Linked DNA regions of Homo sapiens: regions 2, 3 and 4 are each linked to region 1. The links are contacts of gene promoters, found by promoter capture Hi-C in blood cells and fetal thymus (Javierre and others, 2016). All regions are on one chromosome and are shown on one strand. The core of a region is centred on a gene start or on the middle of the fragment in contact, and the rest is flanking DNA. Distances in the headings are between cores, read along the strand shown. Region 1 holds the start of ANO9 (anoctamin 9). Region 2 has its middle 3.0 kb from the start of IFITM1. Region 3 overlaps PSMD13 (proteasome 26S subunit, non-ATPase 13). Region 4 overlaps RIC8A (RIC8 guanine nucleotide exchange factor A).

Region 1 (2,734 bases), core at 167-2,666:
GCCTAACACACTACAGCCCAGAACTCCCAGGCTCGAGCAACCCTCCTGCCTCAGCCTCCGGAGTAGCTGGGACCGCAGGCTCATGCCACCACGCCCGGGTTCCAGCAGTCCTCCTGCCTCAGCCTCCCGAGTAGCTGGGAGCGCAGGCACGCGCCACCACGCCCGGGTTCGAGCAGTCCTCCTGCCTCAGCCTCCTGAGTAGCTGAGACTGCAGGTGCATGCCACGACGCCCGGGTTCAAGCAATCCTCTTGCCTCAGCTTCCGGAGTAGCCGGGACCACAGGCATGCGCCACCAGGCCCGGCTGCAACTGTCTTTTTTGAAGGACTGATGCTCTCACTTCCAACAAACCAGGTGCTGCTTCTCCCAACCCAACCCCTGGCCAGCCCCAAGTCTCTCCTCTAACCCCCAGCATGGGAGGAAGGGGCTGGCAGAGGGGACCCTGAGCTCAGGCTAAGGGGCATCAGGTGCTGGGCTGAGCAGCCAGGGTGTCAGACCTGGATGTGGAGGGCCGAGGAGAGCCCTGGGCGGAGATGGAGCAAGAGGCCGCCGGCGCAGCCCACACGTGGAGGCCCTGGCAGGCCGAGAGGGAGGCTGGTTTCACTCCACACCTCACCACTGCCTCCTCCCTGGGCCGACCAGGTGCTGACCTGCCCAGGTGTTGGCCCTGGCCCCAGGTGACCTCTTCACTGGCAGAGGGGAGAAAGGATGTCTTTCTACGTGTTCACCTGCACTCCCTCCCCCAGAATCGGAATCCAGCAGCAGCAGTCAGCGCCCACCCCCAGAATCGGAATCCAGCAGCAGCAGTCGGCCCCCACCTGTGCTGGGCGGGGTCCTTGGGGAGCAGAGAGCCCACAGCCCGCCGGCCACTCTGCAGCTCCCAACCCTGGGGCAGCCTGCCTGGTGCCCACAGCCCGCTCCCCCTTAGGGGCCAGCTGCAAGGCAAAGCTGCCAGGTCTGGGGTCCTCAGCAGCAGCCCCCGCCTCGGTGGGCAGGCCCTCTCCATCTCGTGTTCAGGACTCTGGTAGAGGTTCCTGGCCCCACACACTAGCTGAGAGCCCAGCCCTGGTGCCCTCAGAATCCCGGGCTGGAGGGAGGAACGCCGCCCGCCTCCAGCACTTCCAACCCCCAGCGTGCCCCAGGAGTCCAGGAGGCAGCTTAGCTGAGCCGGGCGGTCACCCTCGCCTGACCGGGCAGCCTGCAGGGACCCCCCCCACACACACAGGCGCCTTCCAGGTGGGGCTGGCGGGGGGCTGGGGCCGGGGGCCCCAGGTGTGGGCGTGGCTGGGGGCCTTGAAGGTGTGGACCCTTTTGAGCGCAGGACTCACCTGCATGCTGGCTGTGGCCGGAGTTCCAGCTGGGGTTTGGCGGCCAGGAGAGTGGCTGCCAGCGGCGGGTGCTCCTACCTGACTTCCGCGTGGGGCTCGCCCCTCCCTCCTCCTCCTCCAGCGTCCTGCAGCTGCCGCGCCTGGGTGTAGTCGGGGCGGAGCCAGCATCCAGGCCAGGAGAGTACCCCAGCCCCTGGAGCCTGGGACACCTTCCTGGAGCCCAGATGGCGGGTCAGGGGCCAGAGGGGAATTCCTAGGCTGGAGTTCCCGGGAAGGGGGTTTCCACTGTGAGATGGGTCTCATGACACCTGGTCCTAGGGGGAAGCAGGATGGCACAGAGCCCCTGACAGAGCCAGCACCAACGCCCCCACTTGCCTTGCCTCTCTCACCCCCGCTCACACATCCCCATGTTCCCTCCAAAAGCATCCCACCCCAGGCCATGCCCCCCACCCCGGGCCACGGCCCCCCACCCCGGGCCACGGCCTCCCCCACCCCGGGCCACGGCCTCCCCCACCCCGGGCCACGGCCCCCCACCCCGGGCCACGGCCCCCCACCCCACAGGTCCAGTGCTGATTCCCTTAGAGGAGAAACTGGGGCAAGGAGGACTGACGACGAGACAGACTCCCAAAGAAACTGTCTGCTCCTACCCAAGCCCCTGCTTTCTGGGCCCCACTGGGGAATCCTTGGAGTCCTGGGGACACGTGGCTGGCCCCAGGCTGTGTAGACAACGGAGGAGGAGCCCTCCACCCCGCATCCCCAGTCCCTGAGCACGTTCTGTGCAGCCTGGGCTGAGGGCGGCAGCTGGGCAGGCTCTGGGTGTCCTGAGAGTGACCGTCCAGTGGAGTGCCCTGAGGAGGGAAGGGCTGCGGGGAGTGGGGGCCCAGGCCGTGGGCTGGCACACATTATCTGCAGCGTGTGTGGCGAGGAGTCTGCTTCTGAAAGCTGCTGCAAAGCTGGGGAGGCAGGGCCAGAGCTCCGCAGGCAGACGCTGTCACACGGAACGGCTCCAGGCCCACTGGGGCCAGAGCACCCCCCGGCAAGCCCAGCAGCCCTCTGCTGTGGTCCAGGCCCAGGGCCAACAGTCGGCTCTGGTTTCCCCAAGGGGTAACATGGTCCCACCCATGTTTCTCCTTGGGGGACCTCCTGGCAGGCTGGGATGGCAGCAGAGACCACAGCTTTGCCACTTTGGCAAAGACAAGCGAGTGAAGTGGTGGCCGAGGACCTGTGAGCTCAGATGGGGCAAATCCAAATGGAACACATTCAGATCTGTGTGCAAAATGGTGGTGGCTTAAACAAGCTGTGTATTTCTCCTATAAGTGAAATCTGGAGTTGGCCGGGCGCAGTGGCTCATGCCTGTAATCCCGGCGCTTTGGCAGGCCGAGGCGGGTGGATCACCTGAGGTCAGGAG
Region 2 (2,755 bases), core at 256-2,755, 130 kb before region 1:
GATTGCCTTTTAATCTCTTTAAGGCGGGAAATACATGTGGTGGGAAGATGTTACCAGAGAGAGAAACAAAGGCAGTAAATTATTTTGTGACATGTCTTAGATTTTGAGGAAAAACAGAATTGCAACTTAGGTTTTATCTAATTTTATCTACTTTATGACCTTGCAGCAGCATGGCAAAAGAGACAGGATTTTACAGGACTTTACAAAGTATGTTCACAAGGAATTGGAATTGGGAGCATAGATAAGGTCCGCTGGTCACAGAAAAAGGGTCTTTTAACATTCCTTTTAGTTTTAGGGGAGGGGGAAGGAAGAGAGGGAGAGAGGACACAGGGAAGCTTACAGCAGAATTTTTGCTGTTTATAGCTTTCTTGGGGAAGGAAACACATGCACAAATCCTGGTGTTAGGAATATTTTAGGCATGTATCTTCAGTACTCTTCATCCAGGACCGAAGTAAGTCCTGATGCAGGAAATGAGTGTTTCACAGCTTTCTGAACCCCTACTCGACCCAGGAAGCCCAGCTGGACCCTCCTTTCATGAGCAGGTTGGTCAGCCCCTGCACTGCCCCTTCCAGCCTCTGTGCATCTCTTGGGGACGGGGCAAGTGCTCAGGCCTTCTGGTTTCGGGCCTCCTGCCGTGAGCAGCAGCTGGATCCAGGACCCTGGGAGGAGTTCCTGTGTCCTGCAGGTCTCAGCTCCTACTCAACGTGGGCTCTTTCCGGGAACGTCAGTGCTGAGTCCGGGACACCCTGGGCCCAAGGCCACGCTCGCGGCCTGTCGGCAATCCAGGCTGTCGGCTCAGGACAGAGGGAAGGGTTAAGCCCCCAGCAGGGCCAGGGAGGGGCAAGGTGGCACCGGCTCCCCAGCTGCTCCCAGGCCCTGCTCTGTGGTGCTGGGGACCTGGCTTTAGTTCCTCGGGGGTGGAGGGGGCACCGCGCTGCCTGCCTCCGAGCTGTCTGGAGCAGCCAGTCCTGCAGATGTGGGCAGCTCAGGGCCCGTGGGAGGGAGGGGGCTTTGTGCCCAGGGCAGCAGCTGAAGGAGCCCCGGGCCTCGCAGCCCCTCCTGGGTGACCAGGTGCTGCTTCGTGGCAGCTGCCCCCTCCCGTCCAGCGGGTATGGGCCCTGCTCCCCCGTGGTGGGGGCGGCGCAGGAGAGTGGAGCGACCCTCATCTAAGTTACCTCTACCCGGGTCTGAGCCCCCGGACAGACACCCCCGCCCCGACCTGGTTACAGCGCCCTTCCCCGGTTCGGTCTCCGGTGTGCGCATGTGGGGTGCCCCATGGGCGGCCGCGGTGGGAGCTGGGGTGGCCATGCGCGCCCCCGCCCCGCCGTCCACCCGCGACTCCAGGTCTGGATCTACTCGCCCTCCCCACCCTTTCCCGCCCCCAGCCCCGGAGCCGCGCTCTCACCCCAGGGGCGGCAAGGGCGATGGACGCGGAGGAAGCGCCCTCTCCCCCTCGGGGGTCTCCCGGAGGCGAGTCCCGAAGGGGGCGAACTCCGAAGTGGGTCCCGGGTGGGAGGCGCGCGGCCCCGCCCGGCGGGGAGGGGGAAGCGGCGGAGGCGGGTGCTCAGCGGCGCCCCTGGCGGCGGCCGGCGCAGGTGCAGGTCCCGGAGGAGGCTCCGCCCGCAGCCCAGACCCCCGCGGGGTGGGCGGGACGCGGACCCTGAGACCCGCAGCGCCGGACCCGGACGGGAGCCCCTCTCCTCCCCCTCGGGCACGTCCCCGGCCGAGCCTTCCCGCCCTCCTCTGGGGCTCCCACCTCCCCTTCACCCGCGGGGGACCCGATTTCCGCGTCTCCTGGGCCCCTCCCTGGGCAGGGGGTCCAGCCGGAATCCAGGAGTGACCTGCTGGAGGACTTGGTGGCCAGGGAGTCACCCTGGGAGCCCGGTCCTGTGACCCCTTAATGGATTCTCTGCGCTCCTGGGCGGGCCCCTTGGTCGCATCGGGGCAGGGGAATCGCAATAAGGAAAGTGTAATTCACGCAGAGCCGGCTGCGGGGGAGACGGGAGTTTTATTATTACTCAAATCCTTCTCCCCAAAAACGTGGGGATCCGAGTTTCGAAGGATGATATGGTGGGTAGGCGGCCAGTGAGTCAGGAGCGCTGACCGGTCCGGTTGGAGATGAAGTCTTGGGGAGTCGAAGCTGTCTTCCCAACCCTAACCCAGCTCCTCGGTGGGGGCCACAGGACCACATGAGCAAGATTGTGGATTTAGGTGGTGCCAGCTGATCCATTGAGTACAGGGTCTGTAAAGTATCTCAAACTCTGATCCTAGGTTCTACAGTAGTGCTGTGATCCCCGGGAGCAATTTAGGGGTGGCGGGGTCAGAATCTTGCATCCTCCAGCCGCGTGACTCCTAAACCATAATTTCTAATCTTGTGGCTAATTTGTTAGTCCTGCAAAGGCAGTCTGGTCCTCAGGTAGGAAGGGGGCTTGTTCAGCCTTGATCTATAAACTGTTTCTCTCCAGATTAGTTTAGGCTAAGCCCAGGGATGAGCAAGGGCAGCTTGGAGGTTAGAAGCCAGGCGGAGTGGGTTAGGGTCAGACCTCCTTCACTGTCATCATATTCTCAGTTATGACTTTTGCAAAGGTGGTTTCAGTTCCATGCCTGCCCCTCAGAATCCTGTCTCCCTCTTGTGCCCTGCAGTTTCTTCCTTCCTAAACTGCCCGTGATTTAAAGAAGCTTCCAAAATACCTTCCACGGGAAATTCAAGCCCCACCCCACTCCGCAGTGATGTGTGGCCTTTGATAGGAGGTCA
Region 3 (2,734 bases), core at 97-2,596, 190 kb before region 1:
GGATGTGTGAGGCTAACATGAGTGGGTGGGAGAGAGCATGGGATGAAGGAGGAACAAATGCCTGGTGAAGAGAATGGGAGAGCGGTGGGTGCAGGGAGGGGGAGAGCGGCGGGTGCGGGGAGGGGGAGAGCGGCGGGTGCGGGGAGGGGGAGAGCGGCGGGTGCGGGGAGAGGGAGAGGTCCATGCAGGGAGAACAGCCAATTCACCTCAGTGCAAGGGGAGGGCAGGCACTGGGTGAAGTTGTCTCTGGAAGGTGGGAGTTAGGGAAAGGTGCTCAACAAGGGCTTGAGCTTTAATGATAAGTATGTTCTTTTTTAATGAGATTATTAGAAGTAAATATTAATAAAATGTTAACTGTGGTAGGAATTATGGTTATTTTTGTATTTTTCTGAAACTTTCAATTTTCTCAGTTTAAAATAAACTTGTAAAATTCATGCATAGTGGAGCAGGGTAGATATAGATGAAGGCACTGTGAAGAGGCAGAAAGCACAGATGCAGCCAGACCTAACTGTGGTCTGATTATTTATTGATATCTCAAAAAAAGGTGACACTCAGAAAGGAAGATGGCTAGTTATAGCAATTTAAAGAAAAAAAAAAAATCGTAGATGCATGTTGGCAGCATCTATTCAGGCAGCAAAGCCTGTCTGGAGGGGTAGTGAGCCCTTTACAGAGCTTGACCTGTCCAGTACTTGTGGCAGAAATGTCCCCATCGGGGCTACCTGTGTCAGGATATGAGTTGCTATTTGAATTAAAACAACAAGTCTCCTTGGTTTAATTCTGTGCTCACAGGTAACGTTTTGATCCATAAGAAGAGATGATGCATATCTTGCAGAAGCGTATATTCTAGTTCTCAGGACAATGATATTTTTCATTATAAATTAATAACTTGCTCTTTTGATTCAGAACAAGTCTCTAGAACTTAAGGAAGCTTTTCCTCAGAGGGGCTCCACTTGCACTGGCTCACTGAGCCGGCAGCAGCCCTTGAAAGAACCCCCCTGGGCAGTAGGGTGTATCCTTCCCAACAGCACCTTGACCAGGAGAGTCTTCTCGAAATGCCCGTACCCTGTGGCCCTGCCTAATGGTGTCTGTAGCATTAATACAAATCTTACCTTGTAAATTCCTTGCCTTGACAAAGTGTCCCAGTTAGGTGCGACTCTTTCCATTTCCTAAGAAGAATGAAGCTCAGATCACTTGTTGTTAATGAGCTTCAGCAGTCTGCAATGTGAAATGTTTGGATCTGCTTAGCTGGTTTTTGTTGGGTCTACTGTTATAGAACGAATTCCAGATCCCCAGTTAAGTAACTGATAAGCACAAACATGGAAGACATTTTTCTGTCTTTCTATACTTTACAGCCTGATTTAGCAGCTAATGAAGCCCAGCTTCTGAGGAAAATTCAGTTGTTGTGCCTCATGGAGGTAAGCGAACACCCAGGAGCCACTTTGTCTGTGGTTTCAGATTTTGGTCAGGTGGGGGCGCTGCACTCTCCAAGCCTGTGCTGAGCAGTGTGAGCTTTCAGTGGTGCTGCTTCTGCTGTGCGCCGCTCTCTTCACCACCTTCCTTTTCCTTTGCTACCACTTGCTCTTCTAAGTTTATATTTGGCTCTTAGCTCAGACGACACCCTCCCACCCCACTGCCACCACCCTGAGGCCTTCCCTGACCATCTGAACTGAGATGAAGTAGCTGCCCCTCTCCCCGTGATGCAGTTGTTGCCTCATTGCATGTCGCTTCTTGTGTACACGCACATCTGTCTTTCCCCACTAGAACTTAAGCTTCGTCAGGAAGTGGCCCTTAGATTTCTGGTTTGCCGTGGTCACCCCTGGTCAACCCTGGCAAATTGTGGCCTCAAGTACTTGTTCGGGGATTGAACAATGGCTACTGTCAGAAACTCCTGTAAGGCATTTTGCTGTTATCCTTCTTATCTAAGCATTAAAAGCTTGTTCTTAACAAGATATATGTCTAATATTAGGAAACTTTTTAGTATGTGGGGTACTAATAAGATCTCTATTTTCAGAGCCAATATTGACAAAACATCCTTATCAGTTCTCTATTTTTATTTGGAAAAATAGTTTAAAATAGTTAATAAAATTTTTTCCAGATGACTTTCACACGACCTGCCAATCACAGACAACTCACTTTTGAAGAAATTGCCAAAAGTGCTAAAATCACAGTGAATGAGGTACGGTCCCTAGGCTCAGGGTGTTAGAGCAGCAAAGCTGCCACATGGAGGAGTCAAGGCTCTTGTGTGAGCGCTGTGCTCCCTAGACAGTAAAAAATGACGGGAGGAGCGGCATCTGCTTCTCACAAGCCATCTGGGTCCATGGGGGTGTGTCAGGCTATCTTGTCTTACACACGCCTCCCTCTCTGCACAGGTGGAGCTTCTGGTGATGAAGGCCCTTTCGGTGGGGCTGGTGAAAGGCAGTATAGACGAGGTGGACAAACGAGTCCACATGACCTGGGTGCAGCCCCGAGTGTTGGATTTGCAACAGGTGATGTGTTTGAAACCCATTATTCACCTCTGTGGATTTTGAGGGGTTGTGTCTATACCGTCTTAGTTTCATTTGGATGGAAGCCATTTGGGAAGACAGCATTATTAGACAAGAGGTTTTGGAGAAGGAAATACTGCTGTTGGGTTTTTCTAAGAGCCTAATTTAATGCAAGCCTAGGGTTTGAACCCTGCATTTAAAAGCTTATGATGACAATGGCACTGGTTGTGCTGACGGTGCCTTTTAATCTT
Region 4 (2,700 bases), core at 142-2,641, 230 kb before region 1:
GCAGGCAGCAGTGGGATGAGTGGGGCTCCTCACAGGAACCCTTCTTTCTTTGGTCAGGAAGACGCTGCCCTTTACCGACACCTGGGGACCCTTCTCCGGCACTGTGTGATGATCGCTACTGCTGGAGACCGCACAGAGGAGTTCCACGGGTGAGAATGGGGCTTTTTCTGGGAGGGAAGTGTGCCCACATGTCTAGATGGTCGTCCTCAACCCCGGCTCTGAACCAGAACCACCTGAGAGCCCAGGCCCCACCCTAGAGAGTCTGACGTTGTCTGGGTGAGTGAGACTGGACATAGCCATGAATTTGGGGGCAGGAATGTGCCAACTGGGCCTTGGGTAGTGGCAACAGTATGGTACTTACTAGGGCACATTGGTTCCTTGTCCCCGTTTTTGGTCTACCTGCCCCTAGGCTGGTCTGGGTTTCCAGAGATGGTCTGGCGCTTTGGCTCAGACAGGGTCGGGGAGGCAGTGTGTCTCAGTGCCCCCACTTCCCCAGGGGACCCCACTGTACAGCTGAGTGGCAGTGCCTCTCAGATCAGTCCCTGCCCTTGGCTTTGGTCCCTAGCGCTGCCCCTTTGGGACTCAGATGCCAGCTCATGTAATGTGTGGTTCAGCGGAGTCACAAAGATTGCACCTGTGCTCAGGGATTAGCCCTGTTGAAACCCCTACCTCCATCTGTCCCCAGCCACGCAGTGAACCTCCTGGGGAACTTGCCCCTCAAGTGTCTGGATGTTCTCCTCACCCTGGAGCCACATGGAGACTCCACGGAGTTCATGGGAGTGAATATGGATGTGATTCGTGCCCTCCTCATCTTCCTAGAGAAGCGTTTGCACAAGGTAGGCTGGGGATGGCTGTGCAGGCTCCCCCAGTGGCTCTGGCACTGGTTCTCCTGCACAGATGTGGTCAGTGCTTCCACACTGTCCACACTGGTACGTGGAGATTGTCTTGGTGGTGTGATATGGGCGACTCTTCCGGTTGTTCTGTGGTCCAGCCTGGCAAGAAGCCAGACCCTTCCTCCATGAGAAGCATGTGGACACCTTCCACACACTTGAAGGTTTCACTTCTTAAATCTTTGGGGATCTTTACTGAGTGGTCCAGAGAAGCCCCCCAGTCCCTACTTTTAAGTCTTAAACACAGGCAGCCCTTGATTACAAGCATAGTTGTCCCTCAGCATCCTGAGGAGACCCATAGGAACCTCAGATCAAAGCTTCCTTCTGATTGCTGTGACTGCACTACAGGGCATCTGGACAGCTGGGGCTCTAACCATCTTCCAGGAGCTTGCAGAAAGCAGGCTGGAGTACAATAAACCGAGATTTAGTAGACCTCCTGGGAATCTACCTGCCTAAGCAAGGGACACACAAGGTGCCTGCGAGCCAGTCAGGATAGGGAGCTGGCACTGGACACACAGCTAGGGGGTTGTCTGTGCCCGTCGCTGCCACTGCTGGTGCTGGGGTCCAGGCACATTATGCTAGGAGGGTCAAGAACTCCCTGCTCTGTCCACGAAGTACACAGAGCGGGGATTCGGTTCTCGTTTCTTTTTGCCACCAACATCTGAGGGCAATGTGTGTGCGAGTCTAAAGCTTTAATTGCTTTGTGTTTTCTTCCCAGCTCTGGTTTATAGTTGAAGTAATTAGACTTAAAGCAGTTATTTCTCCCAAGTCACAAAGCTTACGAGTACCTCTGAGTTACGCTCTATCCCTGTCCTTTTCAAAAGTGACACAGACACCCACCACCCACTCTTGGCCTTCTGCTGACTAACTGCAGAGGGGCCTCTTCCCAAACCTCTGCCGCCAGGACCAGCTGTTGTGTATGTTGGTGGGAAGGGGTGGTGGGGAGGTGTAACTCTGTGCCAGTCACAAGTTAGGCAGGGGCATAGCCCCAGTGACAGAGAATCCTCTACAGACACACAGGCTGAAGGAGAGTGTAGCTCCCGTGCTGAGCGTGCTGACTGAATGTGCCCGGATGCACCGCCCAGCCAGGAAGTTCCTGAAGGCCCAGGTATAAGGCTGAGGAGCTGGTGCTCCTGGGGGATGTGGTTTCGGCCCTGATCACAGACCCTTGGCTGCTCTAAGCCCAAGCTTAGGGATGGCCACCTCCCCAGGTGCTGCCCCCTCTGCGGGATGTGAGGACACGGCCTGAGGTTGGGGAGATGCTGCGGAACAAGCTTGTCCGCCTCATGACACACCTGGACACAGATGTGAAGAGGGTGGCTGCCGAGTTCTTGTTTGTCCTGTGCTCTGAGAGTGGTGAGTTATGGAGACCCAGGTCCCAGCCCACCCCACCTCAGCCAGGCTTGCACACTGACCTCTGCCTTGCCCCTCAGTGCCCCGATTCATCAAGTACACAGGCTATGGGAATGCTGCTGGCCTTCTGGCTGCCAGGGGCCTCATGGCAGGAGGCCGGCCCGAGGGCCAGTACTCAGAGGATGAGGACACAGACACAGATGAGTACAAGGAAGCCAAAGCCAGGTGTGTACCCCCAACACACCCTCGGGTCTCCACTCACAGCCCCATAGTCCCTGCTTCCACACCCATGTGGACCCCTGTAGGGTGGGACAGGATGACAAATGGGCAAGAGCTTCCAGAATCAAGCACCTGTTCCTAAGTGCTATCTGGGATACCAGAAGGTGGCAGATGGCAGGAGCTGGTTACCTGTGCCGCTTCTGGAGGGAGGCCTCTTCCTGCAGTTGCCTTGCCCACC

What was found. Contacts are between HindIII fragments. The CHiCAGO score rates a contact against its expected background, and 5 or more counts as called.
Region 2: a fragment that was not itself captured here is called in contact with the fragment with the promoter of ANO9 in region 1 in 1 of 17 cell types (total CD8 T cells); the score reaches 5.5 in total CD8 T cells.
Region 3: a fragment that was not itself captured here is called in contact with the fragment with the promoter of ANO9 in region 1 in 4 of 17 cell types (total CD8 T cells, naive CD4 T cells, total CD4 T cells and 1 more); the score reaches 10.8 in total CD8 T cells.
Region 4: a contact is called between a fragment that was not itself captured here and the fragment with the promoter of ANO9 in region 1, in 1 of 17 cell types (naive CD4 T cells). The highest score is 5.2, in naive CD4 T cells.

What each region holds. Positions count from the first base shown.
Region 1 is chr11:440,595-443,328 of GRCh38, forward strand. ANO9 (anoctamin 9) reads right to left here and starts at 1,417. Exons shown (of 23, transcript NM_001012302.3): 1 at 1,327-1,417. The coding sequence starts at 1,332. LOC105376506 (a long non-coding RNA gene) reads left to right here. Exons shown (of 5, transcript XR_007062542.1): 5 at 1-79. It also overlaps the pseudogene RN7SL838P. RefSeq lists silencers at 1,191-1,270, 1,315-1,609 and enhancers at 1,441-1,710, 2,018-2,734. The HindIII fragment of the contact is 10,543 bases long and covers 1-2,734 here.
Region 2 is chr11:309,630-312,384 of GRCh38, forward strand. No RefSeq gene overlaps it. Among named protein-coding and RNA genes, the nearest start is that of IFITM1, 3.0 kb to the right of the region's middle. RefSeq lists an enhancer at 1,921-2,526. The HindIII fragment of the contact is 2,344 bases long and covers 334-2,677 here.
Region 3 is chr11:249,451-252,184 of GRCh38, forward strand. It overlaps PSMD13 (proteasome 26S subunit, non-ATPase 13), which reads left to right. Exons shown (of 13, transcript NM_002817.4): 10 at 1,353-1,415; 11 at 2,096-2,176; 12 at 2,370-2,486. Among named protein-coding and RNA genes, the nearest start is that of PSMD13, 14 kb to the left of the region's middle. The HindIII fragment of the contact is 841 bases long and covers 927-1,767 here.
Region 4 is chr11:210,514-213,213 of GRCh38, forward strand. RIC8A (RIC8 guanine nucleotide exchange factor A) reads left to right here. Exons shown (of 10, transcript NM_001286134.2): 4 at 58-149; 5 at 686-836; 6 at 1,903-1,998; 7 at 2,102-2,246; 8 at 2,324-2,468. Among named protein-coding and RNA genes, the nearest start is that of MIR6743, 2.5 kb to the left of the region's middle. The HindIII fragment of the contact is 373 bases long and covers 1,206-1,578 here.